Regions from separate parts of the Homo sapiens genome. Here all the other regions are linked to region 3. Evidence: promoter capture Hi-C in 16 types of primary human blood cells and fetal thymus (Javierre and others, 2016). All regions are on one chromosome and are shown on one strand. The core of a region is centred on a gene start or on the middle of the fragment in contact, and the rest is flanking DNA. Distances in the headings are between cores, read along the strand shown.

Region 1 (3,952 bases), core at 303-2,802, 1.4 Mb after region 3:
TCAGCAGCCACGCATCCAGCCCCTACATCAGTTCGGTGCAGTCCTACCCGGGCAGCGCCAGCCTCGCCCAGAGCCGCCTGGAGGACCCAGGTACGTGCGCTTGCCAGGGAGAGGGAGAGGAGGAGGTACAAGGGAGAGAGGGAAAGAAGGAGCGGGGGAGAAGAGGAGAGGGAGAGAGAGAGAAAGAGAAGAGAGGAGAGCGAGGTGGGGTGGGGGTGGGGAGGGCGCGGGAGCAGTGGAGGTTTCGAATATCAATCTATAGATCCTTGTCACAGCAAATAAATTTTTTTAAAAATTCCCTCAATTTGCAACTATCCAGCCAAGGATAAATCCCAGAGCGTCTCCTGGCACTGGCTGGGCCTCTGGGCGGCTCGGTGTGCAGAGCACACAATGCCCCGCTGGAAAACAGAAACCCACATGTGCACGTATTAGTCTCGGTAATTATTTATTGCGTAGCGCTATAAACAATGTATGCAATTAAGGGTAATTAAACCTCAACTACCGCCTGCAAAAATAGCAAACTTTCCCTGCAAAGGCAGGAGCTGAGCTCCTGGGAACGGCTCTATCCCTCCTGCAGCGTCCCGGGACAGGCCCTCGGATTTTGGGGGACCCTTCCCTGGCTTTCAGAGTTTCTTGAACGTTCTCTCCCTGGTGCTGCCTCCGCCACCCTTCGGTAGCCACTCGCTCTCGGCTGTTCGCACTAAAGGCGGCCCCTCGTATTAACAACGGGCCCTACTTCTGCTGTCCCTCCAGGGGCGGACTCGGAGAAGAGCACGGTGGTGGAAGGCGGTGAAGTGCGCTTCAATGGCAAGGGAAAAAAGATCCGTAAACCCAGGACGATTTATTCCAGTTTGCAGTTGCAGGCTTTGAACCGGAGGTTCCAGCAAACTCAGTACCTAGCTCTGCCGGAGAGGGCGGAGCTCGCGGCCTCTTTGGGACTCACACAGACTCAGGTACCTCGCCGCTGCCGCTCCGTTCTGCCACGCAGGCTTTCCGCGGCCGGCCTGCGCCCGGGTCTTCATTTGTTGCTCGCTGGGACTCAGGGTCGGGGTGTCACTGTGTGTATGTGTTTGTGTCCACCCCTGGCTCTCAGCGTGTCTCCTTCCTCCCTCATTCCCTCTGCCCTAGCTCTGTCACTGCTCTCGGTATCCCGAGCTGCCTGCCGTCCGGCCCTCTGTCCCTGGACAATCTGATTAGGGCGCAGGAAGGATTTCCCCAGACGATTTGTTTGGGAACTCAGAGGTCACACGTGCCTAAACAACTGGAACAATAGACTCCGGGCTTAATCCCTCCTTTGCCTTTAAATTGTGTGACTAATCACTCGGGGCCTGGGTCCGCGCCTCAGCCTCCCTCCTCCTCCTCCTTCTTACCGGTTGGGGGTGGGGGGAGATCCTTTCCTCCGCCCTCTCACCTCTCAAGTCCCAGACCTTAGAGAAGAAACGGGACCTTCCTTCCCGGCTTTCTGTAAGACTCCGGGGAGCCCGTGAGCGTTCCTGACGGCGGCGGGCGCGGGTTTCCGACGTCCGGTCCGGGATTTGGAGCAGAGCTGGAGAAAGCAAACAGACACTAGTGCAAGAATGGTTTTGAATCCAAAGAGAAGTTCAGCAAAACCTTGAGGCCTCCTTAGTCCGTCCCAACTCAAGGGCAGAAAAGATGGCGCATAGAAAAGTTGGGTCGCGTTGCAAATAAATTTCCTCCACTCCTTCCTAGGTTTTCGATTCTTTTTATTGATGTTGATATTGGAATTGCTGGCTCGGTGTTATGCAGGCGCTGTATCTTCCGCAGGCGGTAGCCACGGTCGGACTGAGCCCCTGGCAGGCTAAGGCCTGGATCCCGGTTCTCCCCTCATCACAACTCCTCCCTGGCTCTCTGAGAGCTGCCCCCGTGGGCTGACGGCGGCGGGAGGTTCGGCCTTCGAGCCTTTGGCTCTTATGGGGGAAGGGAGGAAGGAGGGATGTCTCTGCTTCTCTGGCAGGGAGCTGCCAGCTGGCGCAGGGTTGGGAGGTCCTATCTCTGCTGTTCTGCGGTCCCTTTTTTCCTCCCTGTGACCTAGGTAGGCTCAGTGGTCCCAGCCTGAGTCACGTTGTTGTCCGCTCTTGCAGGTCAAGATCTGGTTCCAAAACAAGCGATCCAAGTTCAAGAAGCTGATGAAGCAGGGTGGGGCGGCTCTGGAGGGTAGTGCGTTGGCCAACGGTCGGGCCCTGTCTGCTGGCTCCCCACCCGTGCCGCCCGGCTGGAACCCTAACTCTTCATCCGGGAAGGGCTCAGGAGGAAACGCGGGCTCCTATATCCCCAGCTACACATCGTGGTACCCTTCAGCGCACCAAGAAGCTATGCAGCAACCCCAACTTATGTGAGGTTGCCCGCCCGTCTCCTTCTTGTCTCCCCGGCCCAGGTCCCTCCCGCCTCCAGGTCCATCCATCCCGTCCGGAAAAGAAGGACCCAGAGGGAAGAAGGAACAGTGGAGGCGGGACGCCCTCCATCTCCTCGGAGCCCCGCGAGGTCCGGCCCAGCAACTTCCCGGCATCCGCGCTCTAGCCTGAACCCTGGCCTGGGCCGAGCAGTGGCAGCAGAGAGTGGCCTCGGAGGGAAGCCACTGCCACCTGAGACAGCCCAAGCAGCAAGATAAACCCGCTCCACCCGACCCGCCGACCTTCAGCTTTGTGGGACTATCAGGAAAAAACAAAACAAAAACAAAATGTAGAAAAAGCAAAAGCTCTTTTCTGTCCTGTCAGTCTCCTGTCTCCTTTTGCTCTGTCTGTGCGCTGGTAAAGTCCAGGTCCTCATCCGTCCGCTGTCCTCATTCTGCGGCCTCAGCAAAAAGCCACAAGGTCTGAGCGGCCCGGGTCCTGCCGGGCTGACCATCTCCGGATCCTGGGACACTCTGCCTGACCATCTGTGTAGCTGGTGTGGGAATCTGGGGGCATTGGAGGGAGGGGGTTTTATTTATTGAGAAATGGACTTCGCCTGAGGCTGTTTGCCAATTCAGGGTTCTGCTGGGCGCAAGGAACGCACTGTTCAAACGCACTGTTTACTTTAAGCGCACGGGGAGAAACGAATAAGGAGGACGTGGTGATTTTTAATTTATACAGTAACTTTTGTACTTCTCTGGTATGGAGAGTTTGGAGCCGAATGATTTGCATTTTTTACATGTCCGACATTATTTAATAAATAATTTTTAAAAGAAAAGAACGATAAATGAAGCCAACATGATTTTCTCATTTCGGGAGGAACTCTGTTGCTTCGCCTGGACAAGAAGGAAAATGCTGATTTCCTCCTTGGGTAGAAAGAGGGAGCGAGGGCAAATGGGGAGTAGAGAGAAAACAGGCGAGAACAAGCACTCTAATTCCAGTGGGCTTTAAAATAAGACAAAATCAGCTTTACAACAATCCCTAGAGGCTCGACCACAGAATAATGCCAGTCACCACCCTGAACGCACAATCTCCAGTGCAGGATCTAATGACTGTACATATTATTGTTATTATTATTATTGTTATTATTGTTGTTCTGTAAACATGTTGCACAAGCTTAGCCTTTTTGCGTTCTGTTGTGTGTGGCTGTAAAACCCCATGCTTTGTGAAATGAGAATCTTGACATTTTTCTTGTGAAATTTGGAAAATGTGATCAATTGAAATCAACTGTGTTTTGTGTTCTCTATGTCAAAGTTTAGTTTTATATTGAGAATGTTAACTTATTGCTTTGTATCTTGGGAAAAAAACTTTGTAAATAAGTTATAAAGTTTCTTTGAGACAGTAAAATTATGATTTCTTGAAAGAACTGCTCTCTTGTGCTGTGTGAGGCTGTGCCAGGGGGCCAGGCCAGGTTCCCGCCTCTGGAGACAGTTCATACAGGGTCAGCGACTTATCAACTTATCGGTGATAGAATGGAGACCCTGTACCCCAGAAACACCAGGGTATCGTCAGAGGCCTGTGAGGTGCCCCATTGGGCTTTT
Region 2 (3,836 bases), core at 396-2,895, 1.4 Mb after region 3:
GTGTCCAAAGAGAATACTCTATTCCTTTTCTAAGTTTCCTGAAGACTTTTAATAGTTTCATTATTAACATTCAAACTATTTCAAAATTGTAAAACCTATGAAGCAAAGTGAAATACTGCCAAGTGTATAAAATAAAAACTCATACTTTCCTGGATTGCAAAGGACTGTAAGTGGGAGTAAATGTATAAAACACTATTCTGTTGCAAGGTAATTAAGATAATTTGATATAGTAGAGAAAACACTCGATTAGAAGCCAATAATCCATCATATTAACCTGAATCTACCTCTATATTCTGCCACCAACCTTAAACAAGTTACTTATCTGTGCCTCAGTTTCCTGAATTATAAACTGAAGATCTAATAAAGACCTTTCTTGCTTCCTTCACAGAATATGAGAGCATTTTTTAAGAAATGCAGAGTAGTATACAGATTTAAGACATTAATTCAGTATCACAACAGACTGAAAGCTCATATAAACATCTTTTTTATAACAGTTTCTACATTCTACCTTATGAGCAAGAGAAATGTGAAAAATAATTAGATAGGACAAATTTATGCAAAGTAGCAAATTCCATGCTACATCAAAGGATCAGTATCCAAACAGTTGCCTCTGCCTTTTATATTTACTATAGTGCTTGGTTATCAATGATTTATAATGAATCTGGTATCTTTCAAGATCCTACTTGGCTTCTGAATCACTGAAGACTGATAAAATTATACTTTCTGTAATTGTGCTTTTAAGCTTGTTTTATTATATTCTAATTCTTTAGATATCCATATATAGTGCTTTCTGTTAACGTTCGGCTGTCTGGAACATTTGATTAAGATTTCACTTCTAGACATAGGATTTTTCTGTAACACATTTCATTCCTATATGGAACCACTTCAATTCTTAGAACTGAATTCTCCTATTTGTTTGTTAGAATACAGACATGTCTATCTTACTTCTTCTTGTCATTATATATCACTTCAAATGTAGAACTGGTAAATACAAAATCAAGTAAGTCTTCATGACATTGAAGAAACTTTTCACTATGTTAAATACTTTTTGGTTCTCTAAACCTGTTGTGGTAATTGTAGATCAAGGTCTTTGGCTACTAATTTTTGCTTATATAATTTTGTCTTCTCAGAAATAAAGTGAGGAATCAAAATATTACAGTAGTATTGTTCATCATAATGCTGAAATAACCATACTAGTTAACATAGTTGTTTTTAAATTTTGCAATATCATTGCATGGCTTCATCTTTTAAATTTCTGCAAGGTTTCAATATATCTATTTCTTCTTTTTTTGATAGGCAAATGAATAATTCTGGAAGGGTAAAACATGAGTCTACTAAATACATAAATGAATACAATGTATACTTTAGGAAAGTAGATTTTTAAACAAGGACATATTTTTAAATTTCTGCTTATGTTTAGGTCTATTACAATGGCTACCATGGAGACACCTCTGAAACATTTTTGGTGGGCAATGTGGACGAATGTGGTAAAAAGTTAGTGGAGGTTGCCAGGAGGTGTAGAGATGAAGCAATTGCAGCTTGCAGAGCAGGGGCTCCCTTCTCTGTAATTGGAAACACAATCAGGTAAGCCTTACATTGACAAGTAAAGGGAGGGTTGGCAAATGGTACAAAGGTTATTGGTGGCTTGGTATAAAGTTGATGACATGTTTTATGATTCAGAACCATCATTTCAGTCTGATATCAGTATGTGAACTGCCAGGCTGCAATATTGTTCCCTGAGTTGAAAAAAAAAAAAGATTTTATAAAAATGAATTATACCAGGGTCAGCAAAGAAACTTATAGAAGGAGCAAGCAATATTTACATGGCTGCTTTTGTTTTAGCTTGACATACTGGTCTATAGTTTCCCTTTATTCAAAATCACACCAAATATGGAAGGGAGTACCTAAGAAGGGGATGAGCATCTCAACCCTGGGGTTTTTAATAAGACAGGAGAAAAACTAAATTTTATAAAGGAATGAAGTGAAATGTATTTCTGTGATATGAAGATAATAAAGTGTTAGTTCAAGCAAGCCTTACCTTTCAAATTGGTAGATTAACAAATAGCCTGAAACGGTGATCTTCTGTTCTTTTTTTGTCTGGTTCATTTTTCCTGTAAACCGTTGTTTATTTTTCACAGAGTATTCTATCCTTACTTTTTGAATGTATGTGTATGTGTGTTTTCTGAATTTAAGACTTTTCTTTATAATCTGTTACCTACTTTTAGGTCTTTTTTCCCCCATAACTGTTTTGAAGTAGACATGCCGAATATATGTTTTCATTTTAAAGTAATGCATTCTGTTAAAGATGATCACATCAGTGCCCTTTAAAGTACTGTTCTCATTAATATGAACCATTGAATACTTCCCATTTGTCTAAAGGATGGAAGGCTTAGTCACCTTGAAAAGATGCTGCCTTTTTTTCTTCGTAAGCCTTCAAATACTTTAAGAAAAAAGCCAGTAAAATATCAGTTAAATGTATTTATGGCTTTAAAAATATTGTAACAGTGTCTGAATCAAACTTTAGTAAAATCTCTTTGGGTTATATCTGAGAAGCTTTTATTGAAGACTTTGAACAAAATTGTGTTTTTGACAGTTTTAAATTATAGGCTAACTAGCCTGGGAAAAAAGGATAGTGTCTCTCTGTTCTTTCATAGGAAATGTTGAATCAGACCCCTACTGGGAAAAGAAATTTAATGCATATCTCACTATCTTACTGTCCATGAATATAATAGAAATGAATTCAAAATGCAGTTTTATTTTTGCAAATGGGATGAGTCGATAGATGCACCTCATATTTTTGAACACCTAGGGTTCAACAAATTTACTGGTGGTGCTCTTGCATTTTAACAAAATTTATTCTTCAGTAGAAGGGGGCAGAGAACACTAGATTCTTATTCAAGCATTCTATCGAGCTCTGCATTCATGGCTGTGTCTAAAGGGCATGTCAGCCTTTGATTCTCTCTGAGAGGTAATTATCCTTTTCCTGTCACGGAACAACAAATGATAGCTAACTACAGAGGCACATTTGCAGTAGTCACATTCATCAACTGCAGAAAAAAAAATTCAATTTAATTGTGCAACACAGCTGCACATGGGCTTTTGAGCATTTCTGTTGTTCTCCCTGTCTCGCTATTCCTCCCTCCAGATCTATTTTTTAAACTTTTTTTCTGGTTATTTTTTCCCCTTTTTGTCTCTTCTTCCATTTTTACTCTCTGTACTTTCTTGTTAAAGTAATTTTCCTTTGTGGCTCTCATTCTTTTTCCCCCATTGAAGGCTATGAATGTAGAAAATTATCACAATTACTCATATAATTGAGCCTCTTTGTAGCAAGTGCAACTCCAGTAGCCTTTCTCCATCATGAAAATGGTTTCATTATAGGGTTTTTCATATTCTCTGACACCATCTACACAGAGGAACAGGCGTGCAGATGAGATGTGCTAGGAACAGGCTAGATCAGTAAGGTCACAGTAGGAATAATTAGCTCTGCTATGGAAAGAGCATCTAGGCCTTTTACTGCTACATAAATGTACTGTCCATGGCTTTTAGTCACAAAAAAAACTTACTAACAAATGGAGCTCCCGCCTACTACTTTGAAAAAAAGATTTGTATCAACACTACAATTTTCCATCATTAAGACTAATAACACAGAGCCTAGTATACATCAAGGGGAATAAAAAGAAAAATCTCACATTCAAGTGGCGGCTGGGTGCTGACCTTTGTTCCCTTTTTTTGTGTACGACTTAACTCTTTACAAAAAAGAGCCACACGCCACACCAACATGCAGGTGAACTCCAGCTAGTACTAGCAAAGCATAGCATTCAGTTGGAAAATTTGAT
Region 3 (4,177 bases), core at 715-3,214:
CTGGACGGGTTTTCACAAACGGAGATGAGGCCGAGAGCAGCCAACTGCGACCACTCAAGAGAGGGCCTTCTGTACGCTCAGCACCGTCCTAAAGACCTTGCGTATATTAACTCTTAAACCTATAGCCACTCTACAAGGGGTGCACTATTGTAACTCCCATTTTACAAACCGCAAAACTGAGGTACACAGCGGCTGAGTACCTTGCTTGCCAAGGTCACCAACTAGAAAGTGGCAAGGCGGGAAAAATGTCTTCAGAGAGTTCGGACTCCGAGCTTTCAACCACCAAGCCACTAACTTTGACCCTGTTGGCCCACTGATGGTTTAACTGGCTAATGGGGGCATCTTGGAGAAAAAGCTAATTCCCATAACTATGGGGATGTGAAATGGCTTTTCTGGCCTTTTTGGGAAAGTAGCTATCAGATTCAATAAAAAGGGCTGCCTTCCATCCTGCTTAGCCCGGCCCTGCCCGCCTCCCTGGGAAAGGGGACTTCGAAGATCTCAAAGAAGCTGGAAAGGAAACCAGCGCTAAGGAACCAGATCGCTTCGAGGGTGCAAGCATGTGCAGGCGCGAGTGTGTGCCAAGGGGCTCCCTGGCCTCCGACTTGCATCCAGGGAAGAGCTCCCTCGAGTCTCACGCTTCTCCAAGACTCAAATCCTGGACGGGAGCGTGGGAAGGAGCAGGTTGGCCAGGCCTCGGATGAAACCACTAAGCTCTCTCCCCTTCTCCGCTCCCAGAGCAGCCGACCTCATCTTCAGAAGCCAGATCGGGTCGGCCAAGTTGTGTGGTCGCCGCTCGCGTTTTAGAGGGGACAACTCGTTGGGGGAGAAGGGGGCGTGCGAGTGCAGGATGTGCGAGGGACCCATTGTATTTGGGTCGCAAGCAGCCCACCCGTCTTGAGTACGATATTCTCATTCCGCAGGCGCGCCCTGGGCGTGGGAGAAGGTGGGCCCGGAGGCATCGCATCCCCGACCCCTGATGGAAGTGCGGAGGGCATCCTTATACAGTCCAGATTCCGAGTCCGTTGTAGTTAGGCTAACCTCTGACGCTGCATCGGGAGATAGGTCACCCCGTCCGTCCCGGTCGCAGTGCGGTTCCCGTGAGGAAGACGGGCAGAGAGGCCGGGCGCGAACTGATTAGGGGCTCCCCCACGGCCGGCGGCCTGGAGAGTGGAGACTGTGTCCGACGGGAGGTGGGTGGGGGAGAGGAGTAGGCCGAGCTCCGGCGGCCACTCCGCAGTGCGCTCTCGCGAGCCGGGGCCGCGAGGCCTCCAACGCGGTTCCGCACCCCTAATGCCCCAGGGCGGTGAGCACCCCGCGGTTCCCCGCCCGCCTCTTCCTCCTTCCCCGCCCGCGCGCCCGGGAGAGGCGATCCCCGCGTCCGCAGTGCCGGGGCAGGACGCGCCCTGCGCCCTGGGCCAGGAGGAGGCAGGTGGCCCTCCTCGGCAGGAGGTGAGCCGCCAGGGAGGGATGGGGGTCACCCAAGCCCCTGCAAGCGCGACCCTGCCCAGAGCAAAGCACGCCCCGCGCCTGGTGAGGAACTTTTTCTTTCCAAAGGTGGCAGGAACAAGTCTGTACTGACTTTTCTCCCGCCTTCGGGATCCTCTCTCGTATGATTTGTGGTTTGTGGGACCACAACAACCAGGCTTCCTCGACCGCGCCTTTTTTCCAGTAGCTCCTGGTCTGCCAGGCTTGCGAGAGGGCGCGCTGGCTTGGCGGGGCTCCGGGCGAGAAATCACCAGCAGCGCTGGGGCTTTCGGCCCCCCACAGCCCAGCCCGGGCCTCCTGGGTGGCCTGGGGAGAAGGGGGCGGGACAGCACAGCTTCTTCCCCTCGGGTGGGCATGACGGGTCGCCTTGGGTGTCCTGCCGAGCTCAGCTTTGAGGGTATGCGCGGCGCGGGTGTTTTTCCCAGGTCCACTCTGCAAAAGTTGTGGCCTGAGGAAAACTTCCAGGTCGCCAGCAGGAACGTCACAGGAGAGCCCCGGTCGCTCGTCAGGCGGGCGGCCCTGGAGCGTGCGCGCCACCCAACGCCGCGCTGGGCGGCCGCCCGGCCCCGCCCCAGGTCACAGCCCTGCCCTCGGCCCCACCGCGGCGGGCGGGGGACACGCGGCGGGCCGGGCGCTGTCGGTCCCACGCCCCACCGGGGATCTCGCTTGGGTCCGCTGTGTGCGCGGGCGGGTGCGTGTGCGGCGAGGGTGCAGGGTGTGCAAGTAAATACAGGGGAGAGTTACACTCTTTGCCGTCTCAAAGTCCGGCGCCTGGAAGCCGAAGGCAGATTTTTCCAGAGATAACAAAGACACTTTGTCACTTTGGGCGCTGCGTCGGTGCAAATCTTTAATTGCAAGTGTGTGTGTGTGTGTGTGTGTGTATGTTGGGGGGGGCGGGAAGAGTGTCTCGAGCAACCCAAGCGCGGGTCTCCAGGCGGCAAGGCCCCCTTTGATCAGGAAAATCCAATTATTTGTGTATATACATTTCCCACATAGTGATTACTTCATTAATTGTCCCGCCTTTATCTCCTCCCTTCCCATCCCCCCTAATAATCAGTTCTTTTATCCAGACCAACAAACACACCATAGGAGCTTTGTGGATTCAAAGGATTTGCTTTCGCTTCTGAAAGAGCCGCTATTCTTTGATGATTGGGTAGCGGCAAACTTCAAAGCCATAAATCTTCCCTCTGACTGGCTGGCGGCCCAGCAAAGTCCTTATCAAATTCTTGGAGGTGATCCTGAAGCGCTCAGACCGCGCGCGGGGCGAGCGAGCGGGGCGCGGCGAGGGGCAAGGGCGGGGAGGGCCCCGGCGCTCAGAGCAGGCGCCAGGGAGGCAGGCTGGGCGGCCCTTCGTCCTCGCCTTCGGGTGTCCATGCCTCGGCGGCGGCGTCCCGCTCCGCAGCCAGGGGCCTGCAAGCCGTAGCCATGGCCGCGGTGGCCGTCCTCCGGAACGACTCGCTGCAGGCCTTTCTCCAGGTCAGGGCCGAGCCCGGAGGGGGCGGGAGAAAGGTGGAAAGGGCCGTGTCCGGATCTCTCCTGGTACTCCGTGCACCTTGAACCTCAAAGGGAACCCCGCCGATGGGTGCAGCTGGAGCCAGGCCTAGGGGTGCCCACGCCAACTTCACACCTAATCCGGTGTGGCCTTTGCTGGAGGGACGCGTGGATCCGGGATTGTTCGGAGGTGCCCGGCTGGCCGAGAACAGGACCGGAGCTCACCCTGCTGGGCCCTCCTGCTGATTTCAGCCTGGGGCGGGCCAGGGAGGAGCGCGAAGGCAGTGAGGACAAGAGAGCTTAAAAGATGGGAGGGAGAGCGGCCGGCCGGCGGGGTTGTGGGTGTTTCCCGACTCTTACTGACCACGGAGCCGGGAGGGGCCCGTCGGATGCCTCCCCCTCCCACTTCGCGCCTGCTTCCTCTAAGGCTGGATGGCGTCTCAGTGCACCAAGTAGTTTAGCAAGAAGCGCTCGCGGGCCCCACGTTCAGGTAGCGCAGGCACCAAAAGTTTCCCTCGGCCGGTGGGTGCGTGCGTGGGGTGCGGTGGCGGGGGAGGGACGGCCGGGACGGAGGAGGGGCGGCGGTATAATAGCGGGCGTGGGGGCGGCGGGCTGGCCCGGAGTCCGCGCTTGGAGCTAACCTTTTGTCTCTTCTCCGCCCTCCCTCGCCGCCTATGCAGGACCGCACCCCCAGCGCCTCCCCGGACCTGGGCAAGCACTCGCCCCTGGCATTGCTGGCCGCCACCTGTAGCCGCATCGGCCAGCCGGGCGCGGCGGCGCCCCCGGACTTCCTGCAGGTGCCCTACGACCCCGCGCTGGGCTCACCCTCCAGGCTCTTCCACCCGTGGACCGCCGACATGCCGGCGCACTCGCCAGGCGCACTGCCGCCCCCGCATCCCAGCTTGGGGCTGACGCCGCAGAAGACGCACCTGCAGCCGTCCTTCGGGGCTGCGCACGAGCTTCCCCTTACACCCCCCGCCGACCCCTCGTACCCCTACGAGTTCTCGCCGGTCAAGATGCTGCCCTCGAGCATGGCGGCTCTGCCCGCCAGCTGCGCGCCCGCCTACGTGCCCTACGCGGCGCAGGCCGCGCTGCCGCCAGGCTACTCCAACCTGCTGCCTCCGCCGCCGCCACCGCCCCCGCCGCCCACCTGCCGCCAGTTGTCACCCAACCCGGCCCCCGACGACCTCCCGTGGTGGAG

Evidence for each region. Contacts are between HindIII fragments. The CHiCAGO score rates a contact against its expected background, and 5 or more counts as called.
Region 1: a contact is called between a fragment that was not itself captured here and the fragment with the promoter of LINC01124 in region 3, in 2 of 17 cell types (naive B cells and total B cells). The highest score is 11.7, in naive B cells.
Region 2: a fragment that was not itself captured here is called in contact with the fragment with the promoter of LINC01124 in region 3 in 1 of 17 cell types (total B cells); the score reaches 7.0 in total B cells.

What each region holds. Positions count from the first base shown.
Region 1 is chr2:172,085,901-172,089,852 of GRCh38, forward strand. DLX1 (distal-less homeobox 1) reads left to right here. Exons shown (of 3, transcript NM_178120.5): 1 at 1-90; 2 at 754-953; 3 at 2,103-3,774. The coding sequence ends at 2,357. Among named protein-coding and RNA genes, the nearest start is that of DLX1, 2.4 kb to the left of the region's middle. RefSeq lists enhancers at 1-478, 1,093-1,704, 2,318-2,929. The HindIII fragment of the contact is 3,945 bases long and covers 1-3,525 here.
Region 2 is chr2:172,069,487-172,073,322 of GRCh38, forward strand. METAP1D (methionyl aminopeptidase type 1D, mitochondrial) reads left to right here. Exons shown (of 10, transcript NM_199227.3): 6 at 1,421-1,584. Among named protein-coding and RNA genes, the nearest start is that of DLX1, 14 kb to the right of the region's middle. RefSeq lists an enhancer at 2,305-3,836. The HindIII fragment of the contact is 1,811 bases long and covers 741-2,551 here.
Region 3 is chr2:170,712,603-170,716,779 of GRCh38, forward strand. LINC01124 (long intergenic non-protein coding RNA 1124) reads right to left here and starts at 1,965. Exons shown (of 1, transcript NR_027433.1): 1 at 1-1,965. It overlaps SP5 (Sp5 transcription factor), which reads left to right and starts at 2,735. Exons shown (of 2, transcript NM_001003845.3): 1 at 2,735-2,961; 2 at 3,657-4,177. The coding sequence starts at 2,911. The region is part of intron 5 of ERICH2-DT (ERICH2 divergent transcript); the gene reads right to left. RefSeq lists a silencer at 2,052-2,101 and enhancers at 2,319-3,108, 3,109-3,896, 3,897-4,177. The HindIII fragment of the contact is 7,273 bases long and covers 1-4,177 here.